Regions from separate parts of the Homo sapiens genome. Here all the other regions are linked to region 1. Evidence: promoter capture Hi-C in human tissues and cell types (Jung and others, 2019). All regions are on one chromosome and are shown on one strand. Each heading gives the region's core, a stretch centred on a gene start or on the middle of the fragment in contact. The rest is flanking DNA. Distances are from core to core; before and after follow the strand shown.

Evidence for each region. Contacts are between HindIII fragments. The study calls those that stand out against the background at their distance.
Region 2: a contact is called between a fragment that was not itself captured here and the fragment with the promoter of TIGD7 in region 1, in 1 of the 25 tissues and cell types used here (bladder).
Region 3: a contact is called between a fragment that was not itself captured here and the fragment with the promoter of TIGD7 in region 1, in 1 of the 25 tissues and cell types used here (spleen).

The regions. Positions count from the first base shown.
Region 1 is chr16:3,303,515-3,307,176 of GRCh38, forward strand. It overlaps TIGD7 (tigger transposable element derived 7), which reads right to left and starts at 1,916. Exons shown (of 2, transcript NM_033208.4): 1 at 1,698-1,916. It overlaps ZNF75A (zinc finger protein 75A), which reads left to right and starts at 1,983. Exons shown (of 7, transcript NM_001302109.2): 1 at 1,983-2,129. RefSeq lists an enhancer at 1,477-2,006. The HindIII fragment of the contact is 22,904 bases long and covers 1-3,662 here.
Region 2 is chr16:3,520,048-3,523,709 of GRCh38, forward strand. It overlaps CLUAP1 (clusterin associated protein 1), which reads left to right. Exons shown (of 12, transcript NM_015041.3): 8 at 3,111-3,252. Among named protein-coding and RNA genes, the nearest start is that of CLUAP1, 21 kb to the left of the region's middle. The HindIII fragment of the contact is 3,871 bases long and covers 1-3,662 here.
Region 3 is chr16:3,152,447-3,156,108 of GRCh38, forward strand. It overlaps TRR-CCT3-1 (tRNA-Arg (anticodon CCT) 3-1), which reads left to right and starts at 454; the gene lies at 454-526. It also overlaps the pseudogene TRP-AGG6-1. RefSeq lists a silencer at 482-621. The HindIII fragment of the contact is 9,846 bases long and covers 1-3,662 here.

The DNA.
Region 1 (3,662 bases), core at 666-3,165:
GAATATTTACTGCTGAAGAAATGAAGTCCCAACCTGGCTGAGATTTTAAGGAAATGAACCTACTTAGACACAAATTCAAGTGACTTAGGCAGATGCTCATTATTAAATCTGTTTATCTTTCTCTCTCACTTAAAAAGGATCAAGATCTATGCCTAAGAGGAGTTACATACCATCCCATCCAAAAGCAAAAATAGCATAATGGCCTGGTAATGGCCTCTCATCTTCATTCTCACCTTAAACTTACCTTAGATGAACTGCCATAGAAAGCAGCTCAGTCCAAAACGCTCAAATGGTGCTCCAGGATTTACTTTTTTGTATTGTTTTGTTTTGTTTTTTGCGACGGAGTCTCGCTCTGTCGCCCAGGCTGGAATGCAGTGGCGTGAACTCGGCTCACTGCAAGCTCCGCCTCCCGGGTTCACGCCATTCTCCTGCCTCAGCCTCCCGAGTAGCTGGGACTACAGGCGCCCACCACCACGCCCGGCTAATTTTTTTTTGTATTTTTTAGTAGAGACGGGGTTTCACCATGTTAGCCAGGATGGTCTCGATCTCCTGACCTCATGATCCGCCCGCCTCGGCCTCCCAAAGTGCTGGGATTACAGGCGTAAGCCACCGCGCCCGGCCAGGATTTACTTTCTTAAATGCACTCTTTTCATTCCCATTCAAAGGACTCCAGTATAAGTGCCACATAAACTCGTTTTCTAACTTTTAAAACTCTTCCTCTAAATGCAGCCCAACTCAGTAAAAACGTACCTAAGATCTCACAGTCTAATGTTTCCAGCTTTTAAAGCCTTTACTCCTACCCTTCCCTCTGCCTGGAAAGTGTCTCCATTCCCTGCTGTGGACAAAATCCCTCAAGGTCTTTTATAATTTCCCCCAACCCCAAATCAACTTGGATTTTCTTGGAGTTCTCACAGCATTCAGTTTATGTCCTATTCTTACCCTTGTGTTACTGATATTCACGAAATTGCTCAGTCCTTTCAAGAGATTGCTTAAGGACAAAGACTTCTTACTCAACTCTGCAATATTGGCTACACATAGCTGACTTAATAAATAGTCCCTTGACTGGTATAAGCTGACGTTACAAAAACTGGTAATTCCGAAACCACTCATACTGGACTTATTAAATAATCCCTCAACTGGTACAGACTGACATTACAAAAACGGATTAATTCAGAGATCACTGAACACCCAAAACACTCAGATTCTTATAACTATGATTCAGTAAATATGTGTGGAATGCCTATCTTACCAGGTGACTATGTTAGGCGCTGCATGAGATATAAGATGAAAACAAGGTTCCCATTTTCCAGGGAAGAATACTGGAGTGGAAAACGCAGAGGATACCACAACAGGAGAGCTATTTCCGATTAGCGGCCGCCACTGCTGAGCTATGTGACCCTGAGCAAGTCACTTCTTAGGTCTCCGTTTCTCTGTCAAGGAGAGATAGAAAAAGAACCTATTTCACAGGTTCAAACCTACCTCAAGAAAAAATAGTTGTGGGGAATGCGTCACGAGACCTAGAAAACGGTACAAAACCCTCGGGGGGCCGCTGTTTCTGACCTAGCGAGTGGCCCGACCCGGACAAAATGCCTCTTCCTCGAGGAGGCGGCGACGAGCCCAGCAACAGCTCGAGCACGGCCGGCCGGGCCGCGGGAAGCCCGAGAACGCGGCGCGCGCAGCTGGGAGGCGACCCTTACCCGGCGAGGCTCCCGGGACCAAACGCCGCCCGACAGCCACGCAGAACAGACGCGGCAGTGCGACGCCTCCCCCACTGGGGACACGAGACAGCGACAGCCACGCGGTGAGCCGGTACAAGGCCCTCTAGGCTTCAGCGGGTCTGGATACTCGGTGGCATTAACCCTTCCCTACCGCCGGGGAAGACAGCAGTTTCTCTGGCGAGGAAGTAGGCCGGGCTCAGGCGCCTTAGCCAGAGGGCGGGCCTGCGCCACCCTCGGAAAGCGTCACTTCCACTTCCGGCCGGCGCTCTGGCTCTGTACCTGGACAGGGCTGCGGTAGGCCAGCGGTGGGCTGGCGGTTGCGCTCCTCAGATCGGCGGCCTTTCGGGCGGTGGCTTGCGTTTGAGCCTCAGAAAGCGAGGAGCGGCCTCCACGGAAGCCAAGCTGGCCGAGGTAACCGAGAAGCGGCTTCCCCTATGGCTTCGACCCTGGAGCCGCTGGAGCGGCGGCGGCCGCAGGGAGGCAGCCATTTTCCGTAGGCGGTGGCCGCGGCGCTTCCGGGCCGCGCGGCTGGAGCCTGAGGCGGGGCCACCGTCGGGCACGAGAAACCATTCTCTCCCCGCTTTTCGCAGCTGTATCCCAGAGGCGCGGCTGAAGCTCGCTGGGACACTGCCCGCTTGCCCAGTGCCCACGGGCACGCCTGTCGCAGACACAGGCTGTGGCGAATCCGAGTGCTGGCGGGCAGCAGTGCCTGCAGCTGCGCCCGCAGACTCTTTCCCGCCTCCGCCGGCATTTCCGTGTCCGGCCGATGTCATGCGGTCGGTTGAGCCTCAGGGCTAGCAGCTTCTACTGATGCAAAAACATAGGAAGTGTCTCTTTGCTTCTGGAACCGGGGTGGGCAGCAAGGAGCTGGCCACTTCTTTGAATACCGGTGGCATCCTGGGCAGAATTTCGGTGCCGTTTCTGCTGGCTCACTTCAGGAAAAGTGAGGCTCACGGCTCTCCTCAGCCCCCCTTAGAAGTCTAAATGACCTTTGGAGAAATACAAAGTCAGCAGAAAGTTTCACTTTCATCGTCACCAACTCCTGTTGGAGTTGATATTTCATAAACATCAGCGACAGAAAGAAAATACGACTTGATATTTTGTAAATAAAATATCCTTTTTTACAAGTTGATATTTTGTAAACAGAGGTCAGCTGTAATTTTCTCCAGATCAAGTAAGCACAGTTAAAAATTCATATAGGCCTGGCGCGGTGTTTGACGCCTGTAATCCCAGCACTTTGGGAGGCCAAGATGGGTGGATCACGAGGTCAGGAGATCGAGACCACCCTGGCCAAGATGGTGAAACCCTGTCTCTACTAAAAACACAAAAATTAGCCGGGCATGGTGGCACGCGCCTGTAATCCCAGCTAGTCGGGAGGCTGAGGCAGGAGAATGGCTTCAACCGGGGAGGTGGAAGTTGCAGTGAGCTGAGATCACGCCACTGCACTCCAGCCTGGGTGACAGGGCGAGACTCCATCTCAAAAAAAAAAACAAAATTCGTATAAATCATCTGCATGGCACCCTTTATGTGTGTTGCAAAGAATGATGAGCATCTTGTTGCTTACTTGGGAGACATTGTCTGAAAATAGGCTACTTTTTTACTTTCTGTAGTACCCCCTCCCCCCACTGTATCTGGGTTTCACTTACCCGCTGTCAACTGCCATCCAAAAAATATTAAATGGAAAACTCCAGAAATAAACAGTTCATAAGTTTTAAATAACTTTTTTTTTTTTTTTTGGAGATGGAATCTCGTTTTGCTGCCCTGGCTGGAGTGCCGTGGCACAGTCTGAGCTCACTGCAGCCTTCACCTCCCGGGTTCAAACAATTTTCCTGCCTCAGCCTCCTGGGTAGCTGGGACTACAGGCGCGCACTACCACACCTGGCTAATTTTTGTGTTTACAATAAAGAAGGTTTCACCATGTTGGCCAGGCTGGTCTTGAAGTCC
Region 2 (3,662 bases), core at 614-3,113, 220 kb after region 1:
CACTTGGAGAATGAGTAGAAAGATGTCCTGGAAAGTTCAAACAAACTGGGCGTGGTGGCTCATGTCTGAAATCTCAGCTACTCATGAAGCTGGGGCGGGGGGTTCTCTTGAGCCCAGGAGTTTGAGACCAGCCTGGGCAGCATAATGAAACCCCATCTCTAAAAATTTTTAAAAATTACCTCAGTATGGTGATACACACCTGTAGTCCCAGCTACTTGGGAGGCTGAGGCGGGAGGATTGCTTGAGCCCAGGAGGTTGAGGCTGCAGTGAGCTATGGTTGCATCACTGCACTCCAGCCTGAGCCACAGAACAAGGCCGAGTAACAGAACAAGGCCCTGACTCTAAAAGAAAAAAAAAGTTAGAACAAAGACTTAAGAGAATAGAATGTGATCTTAACTCTTCTCAAGCAATGAAAAAAAGCCTTACATAAGGGTATCTTCACCTCAAATGTACATGTGTTGCCTGTCATAACAAGCAGATGGCTAAACTCATTCTCTTTACTGCTTGCGGTATGTCTGGAAAACTGCTTAAAGCTTGAACTGCCCTTTAAGCTTTTATAGCTTCTTGGAACTCAAGGCAGAGTAAGTGAATCCAGACGGGGAAATCCAGACGTGGTCTCCTAAGATCTTGCCATAAATTAGGTAGAAACAGAAACATACTCCTGCCTGTTTGTTGGCATAGATTTTAGACTTTATTTAAACCTTGATCATTCCTCACCAGTCAGTAATTCATCTTTCTTCCTACGTTACCTCATTGGAAATATATTTCCCAGGAATACCGATGGAGAATAGTGGTGCCGGCTCTCTCTCTCTTCTCTTCCTCGTTCTGTGCCTCTTTCCCTCCCCCATGCTTCTGCTCTTTCTCCCTTTTCATTCACCCTTTATTTTTCTTTCTTCTTGGCTCCCTCCTCTTCCCAGCTGCCTACTCTGCTCGGATGTTTTGCCTTTTTGGATGTTGGTGGCTGGCTACACCCTGCCCACTGTCCCGAGGTCTGTGGGGAGGCAGCACCTGGAGGCAGCGACAGCAACCACAGGGAGCGCCCTGGCTCCTCCCTGCCCAGCGCAAGGCCAAGGCCCTTCCCCTCCTGAAACTGGCTCTTTACCTCTGGAGCCTCAGAGAGGGAAAAAAAAAAAAACAGAAGTCATTGCCGCCATATAGATTGATCTCCTTGACACATTCCACTTTTAAAGCATCAATTCATTTTTGTTAAGCTCCAAATCATTTTAACAGAAAAGTCTCTTTGTTTTGCTCTAGTTCAAAAGATTATAATTATTTCTGAGTTTATCTGCTTATATTTTTAAAAGAGTAGAATTTTCCCTTTAAGGTCAATAATAAGAAAAAAGAAAAAGTTCAGCAAACCAGTATAGATTTTTATGGTTTTTTTTGTTTTTGTTTTTTTTTTTTGAGTTGGAGTTTCGCTCTTGTTGCCGAGGCTGGAGTGCAATGGCGCGATCCCGGCTCACTGCAAACTCTGCCTCCCGGATTCAAGCGATTCTCCTGCCTCAGCCTCTCAAGTAGCTGGGATTACAGGCGGCCGCCACCACGCCCAGCTAATTTTTGTATTTTTAGTAGAGACGGAGTTTCACCATGTTGGCCAGGCTGGTCTTGAACTCCTGACCTTGTGATCCACCTGCCTTGGCCTCCCAAAGTGCTGGGATTACAGGCATGAGTCATCATCACGCCTGGCCTTTTTAAAAAATTTTTTATCGTTTAAAAACCTCTTTAGACTGGGCACAGTGATTCACGTCTATAATCCCAGCACTTTGAGAGGCCAAGGCGGGCAGATCGCTTGAACTCAGGGGTTCAAGACCAGCCTGGGCAATATGGCGAAACCCCATCTCTACAAAAAAAAAATATAAAAAATAGCTGGGCATAGTGGCACATGTCTGTAGTCCCAGCTACTTGGGGGCCTGAGACAGGAGGATCACCTGAGCCCAGGCGTTCGATGCTGCAGTAAGCCATGATCACACCACTGCACTGTAGCCTGGGTGACAAAGTGAGACCCTGTCTCAACAAACAAAAAAAAACCACCAGCCTTAATTCGTAACAACCTGTGGTCCCCTTTTTAGAGGATTGCTTTAAATTTATAATATCCTGACAGTAGAACATTATTATTATTATTATTATTTCTTTTGAGATGGAGTCTCTCTGTGTTGCCTAGGCTGGAGTGCAGTGGCGCAATCTCGGCTCACTGCAACCTCCACCTCCCAGGTTCAAGCAGTTCTCCTGCCTCAGCCACCCGAGTAGCTGGGATTACAGGCATGTGCCACCACGCCTGGCTAATGTTTGTATTTTTAGTAGAGACGAGGTTTCACCATGTTGGCCAGGCTGGTCTGAAACTCCTGACCTCAGTTGATCCACCCGCCTCAGTCTCCCAAAGTGCTGGGATTACAGGCGTGCGCCACCGCACCCGGCCAACAGTAGAACATTATACCCAAATAAGATAATAATATATATATTTATTGATTTGGAGAGATGTGTCTGGTATGTGATTTTTTTGCCTTTAGAGATGGGGTCTCAATGTGTCACCCAGGCTGGAGGGCTGGAGTGCCACGGCAAGGTCAGAGGATCCTCACTCACTGCAGCCTTGAACTCCAGGGCTCAATCCTCCTCCTACTTCAGCCTCCCAAAGTGCTAGGGTTACAGGTGTGAGCCGATGCACCCAGCCTGATCATTTTTAACTCTATTGAGATTACGGTATATTGAAATGAAATAAAGATTATAAAATTTCTTGGTATATTTAATTTTTTTTTTAAATGCATTCCTATCTATATTTATGCATAGAAAAGTCTGGAAGGATGTATGTCAACTATCAAGCGCTTATACCTGGTGATGGGATTATCAGTAATTTTTACGTCATTCTTCATACTTTCAGGATTATTTCAAGTTTTTACAAAGAGCACATCTTATTTATGATGAAAAAGAAGTATGTTCATTTTGGGGGGAGAAAGCAGAAAAGGGAAAATATTTTTAAGCATTACAAGAATGAAGGACCTTCTCTAATTAAGGGTTTCCAGAGAAAGCCACCATGGAATCTGAAACTGTGAATACCCATTTCAAACTACTGCATATAATTCACCTTTCCTTTTTATTTCATTTGCTTCTTTTAGGCCATGTTTTATGGATGAGTATGAGAAGACTGAGGAAGAATTACAAAAGCAGTATGACACTTATCTGGAGAAATTTCAAAATCTGACTTATCTGGAACAACAGCTTGAAGACCATCATAGGATGGAGCAAGAAAGGTTTGAGGTGAGCTGAGCCTGTCCTCTGTTCAGCCATTCCTTCTGGTGTGTTATTTTGTACTGGGTGACAGGTCATTTTGTTAATATCATTGTGAAAAAAATATCAGTACATGTTTTTTCTCCCTGGTCAGTCTGAGGATTGCTCATGTAATGTGTTTGTTTTGCTGGCAGTGTACACTGGACTCCAGGGTTGTCAAATCTTTGATGTCATATTTCATCAGGTTTGGTCAGTTAAGAGAACAGACAGGGCCGACATGAGGCCTGTGTGGCTGCGTAAGACCCTGTGCCGACATGGGGCCTGTGCTTGCTTTCAGGCCCTGTTGTCACTGTCTTGAAATTCATAATAATTTTTAAGTGCATTTTATTTTCCACTGATCCCAAAAATTATGTAGCTGGTCTCGAGTGCAGATTTAAAAG
Region 3 (3,662 bases), core at 309-2,808, 150 kb before region 1:
AGGAGGACGAAGACCGACACTTCCAGAAGCGGCGGGCTCGGGATGAGGAGCCAGTTGCTGAGCTGGCATCGCGTGCCCCTTCCCATACACTCTACCCATCGCAAGTGCATCATTCGCTACTAATTACCCCTAGACTTGGGTTGTCTCCTGAGTGGAGACGACGGCTTGTGAAGGAGTTGATCCAGGCACCTCTCGCACCCTAAGCGAAGATCATACCCCTAGACCAAAGAGCGGAGCCAAAAATCTGACGTTCGGTGTCTTTCAGGTCCCTCTGCACGTGCGCCGTCTCTTTGGGGTCCCGAGGATGCTCAGGAGCGGACGAGATCTGAACCGAAGCTTGGATTGCAGTGGAGGGGCGGGAGAAAGGCCAGGGTAGGACGGGCAGGCTGTGCAGGAACCACCGCGGAGTGATGGAGAAACTGGTCTAAGACAAGCGACAGCGTTTTGTTATCCGCCCCGGTGGCCTAATGGATAAGGCATTGGCCTCCTAAGCCAGGGATTGTGGGTTCGAGTCCCACCCGGGGTAAAGAAAGGCCGAATTTTAGTGTTCCTTATCGGGCAGAAGAGTTAGAATGCGGTATACTCCAGTGGAGGTGCGGAGTTTCCGAAGGGTTACCAAAAAGGCTCTAAATCAGAAACCTCTACCTGTTTTCAAGGAAGACGAGCACAATTTCACGTTACAGAAAAAAGGAGCCGAATCTTTTACAGGATGTTAAGTACCATCCATTTAACTTGATAGAAAGGAATGATTGTTTATTTTTCCAGGTTTGTTAATTCTATTATGGTTACAAATATTTTTTAAATCCTTTTTTTTATAAACACAATTATTTACAGATTAAATTACAAGACAACTGGTTTGTTTTAAAAATCATAAAACTGAGGCCAGGTGCGCTGGCTTAAACTTGTAATCCCAGCCTGTAATCTCCGTTTCAAAAAAAAAAAAAAAGAAATCATAAGATGGATGGCGGTATAGATGAAACTACTTATCCATGAGTAGATAATGGGGGACATGAGGGGACATTGCACTATTTTCTCTCTTTTAATACATATTTGAAATAGTCCATAGTATTCTTTTTTTAAATCCATGCAATATATGATGCCATCTTCAAGGTAAAAATTTCCCGAACTACAGGACATGGTGTAAAGTAAAATCAGAAGCCGCTCTGATGGGGACCACTGCTGGAGTTTTGTCATAAATATGTATAAAAACATGGTTGGCTTTTGCCTTTAAAACCAATAATTGGCCCGGGCGCAGTGGCTCCCGCCTGTAATCCCAGCACTTTGGGAGGCCGAGGCGGGCGGATCACGATCACGCACCAGCCTGACCAACACGGTGAAACCCCGTCTCTACTAAAAATAGAAAAATTAGCCGGGCGTGGGGGCACGCGCCTGTAATCCCAGCTCCTCAGGAGACTGAGGCAGGAGAATCACTTGAACCCGGGAGGTGGAGGTTGCAGTGAGCGGAGATCGCGCCACTGCACTCCAGCCTGGGTGACAGAGACTCCGTCTCAAAATAAATAAATAAATAAATAAAACTCATAATTGGGACTCTTCTGTTTTTCCAGCTCTGGCCTGGCTTCTCCCAGTTCCCCAAACATCCTGGACCCCATCATCTCCACTGAAATCAGGGACCTCACCTCAATGGCATTACCTTCCTCACCTCAATGGCGTTACCTTCCTCACCTCAATGGGGTTACCTTCCTCACCTCAATGGCGTTACCTTCCACACCTCAATGGGGTTACCTTCCTCACCTCAATGGCATTACCTTCCTCACCTCAATGGGGTTACCTTCCTCACCTCAATGGCATTACCTTCCACACCTCAATGGGGTTACCTTCCTCACCTCAATGGCATTACCTTCCACACCTCAATGGGGTTACCTTCCTCACCTCAATGGGGTTACCTTCCACATCTCAATGGCATTACCTTCCTCACCTCAATGGCATTACCTTCCTCACCTCAATGGGGTTACCTTCCACACCTCAATGGGGTTACCTTCCACACCTCAGTGGCGTTACCTTCCACACCTCAATGGCATTACCTTCCACCATCATAGGCCACCTGTAGAGAATGGCCACCAGAGAGCTACTTAAGGAAGCTGATGCTTCAGTGATGGATTTTTTCGGGAGGCCTTGTGAAAGGGAGTGTCCTGGCCTGGTGCGGTAGCTCACACCTGTAATCCCAGCACTTTGGGAGGCCGAGGCAGGCGGATCACGAGGTCAGGAGTTCTAGAGCAGCCAGGCCAATATGGTGACACCCCATCTCTACTAAAAATACAAAAATTAGCCGGGTGTGGTGGCGCTCGCCTGTAGTCCCAGCTACTTGGGAGGCTGAGGCAGAAGAATCGCTTGAACCCGGGAGGCAGAGGTTGCAGTGAGCTGAGGTCGTGCCACTGCACTCCAGCCTGGGCGACAGAGTAAGACTCCGTCTCAAAAAAAAGAGAAAAGAGAAAAAGAAAGAAAGAAAGAAAGGGAGTGTCCTCTGGTCTTCTCAGTGGTATGCACATCATGCGTGAAAGATGCACTCCAACATTGCTTGGTGTCTTTAGGTTTCTTTCTCTACAGTTTGCCTGAGACGTTCTGGCAGCCCGGTCTCATTAAACATAGGCCACCACTGAGTTCAATTTTCAGCCAACCAACCAAGAAACCTGGTAGGGCCATGGTCAGCTGCATGAGATAACATATTAACTATAGGCTCTTTGGGATATGCACCCAGATGGATAAATTCACCAGATACAAAATCATATCCCATCCTCCTTATGATGGCTTAAAGTAGCCAAACTTGTTTTGTTTCTGTTTTGTTTTGTCATGTAGGCTGTTTTCTCCAAGGTCAACCTTTGTAGTTCAAGATTCTCAATTTTGAGTCCAATCTGATGTCACCACTTCTGCCTAATCAATGCAGTATCTTTCACACCAAAGATTTCCTAAGGCTGTGAATTCAATTTACGTTGCCATTCTGCAACATGCCTAGTTAAATGACATGTTTGATTTTTAGCAATGTCAGCCTTGTGGCTTTAAGGTTATTGTATGGTTGCCATAAATTGTCCCTGCGTCTCTGAACTTGACTTAGTCTAAAAGTTTAGAGACCTGATCTTGTCATCTTCTTTCTGTAAGCAAACCAGGGCCTTCAGAAGACTTCTTTCCACGCCATGAACTAACGAAAGTCTGTGTGGTCACCTGTGCTGCAACAATCAGGCACAGCAGCCACTGGTCACCCAGGGCACTTGCTTCAGCCTGCAACTCCTCATAATCAACCAGGCCACGCATTGCCTGATCACGATGCTGTTGTATACTGTGAATTATGTCATCTCACGTTCCATTGGTAAGGACCTCAGCACTGCATTGAAGCCAAAATTTGTTACCAAACCAATGTCCAGGTAGCAGTCAGGAAACCATCAGCTATGTTTTTTTTGTTTTTGTTTTTGTTTTTTTGTTTTTTTGAGACAGGGTCTCACTCAGTCACCCAGGCTGGAGTGCAGTGGTGTGATCACTGCTCACTGCAGCCTCGACCTCCCAGGTTCAAGTGATCCTCCCCAATCAGCCTCCTGAGTAGCTTGTACTGCAGGCACATGCTACTTATTTTTTGTAGAGACGGGGTCTTGCTATGTTGCCCAGGCTGGTCTGAAACTCCTGGGCTCAAGCAATATTCCCACCTTGGCCTC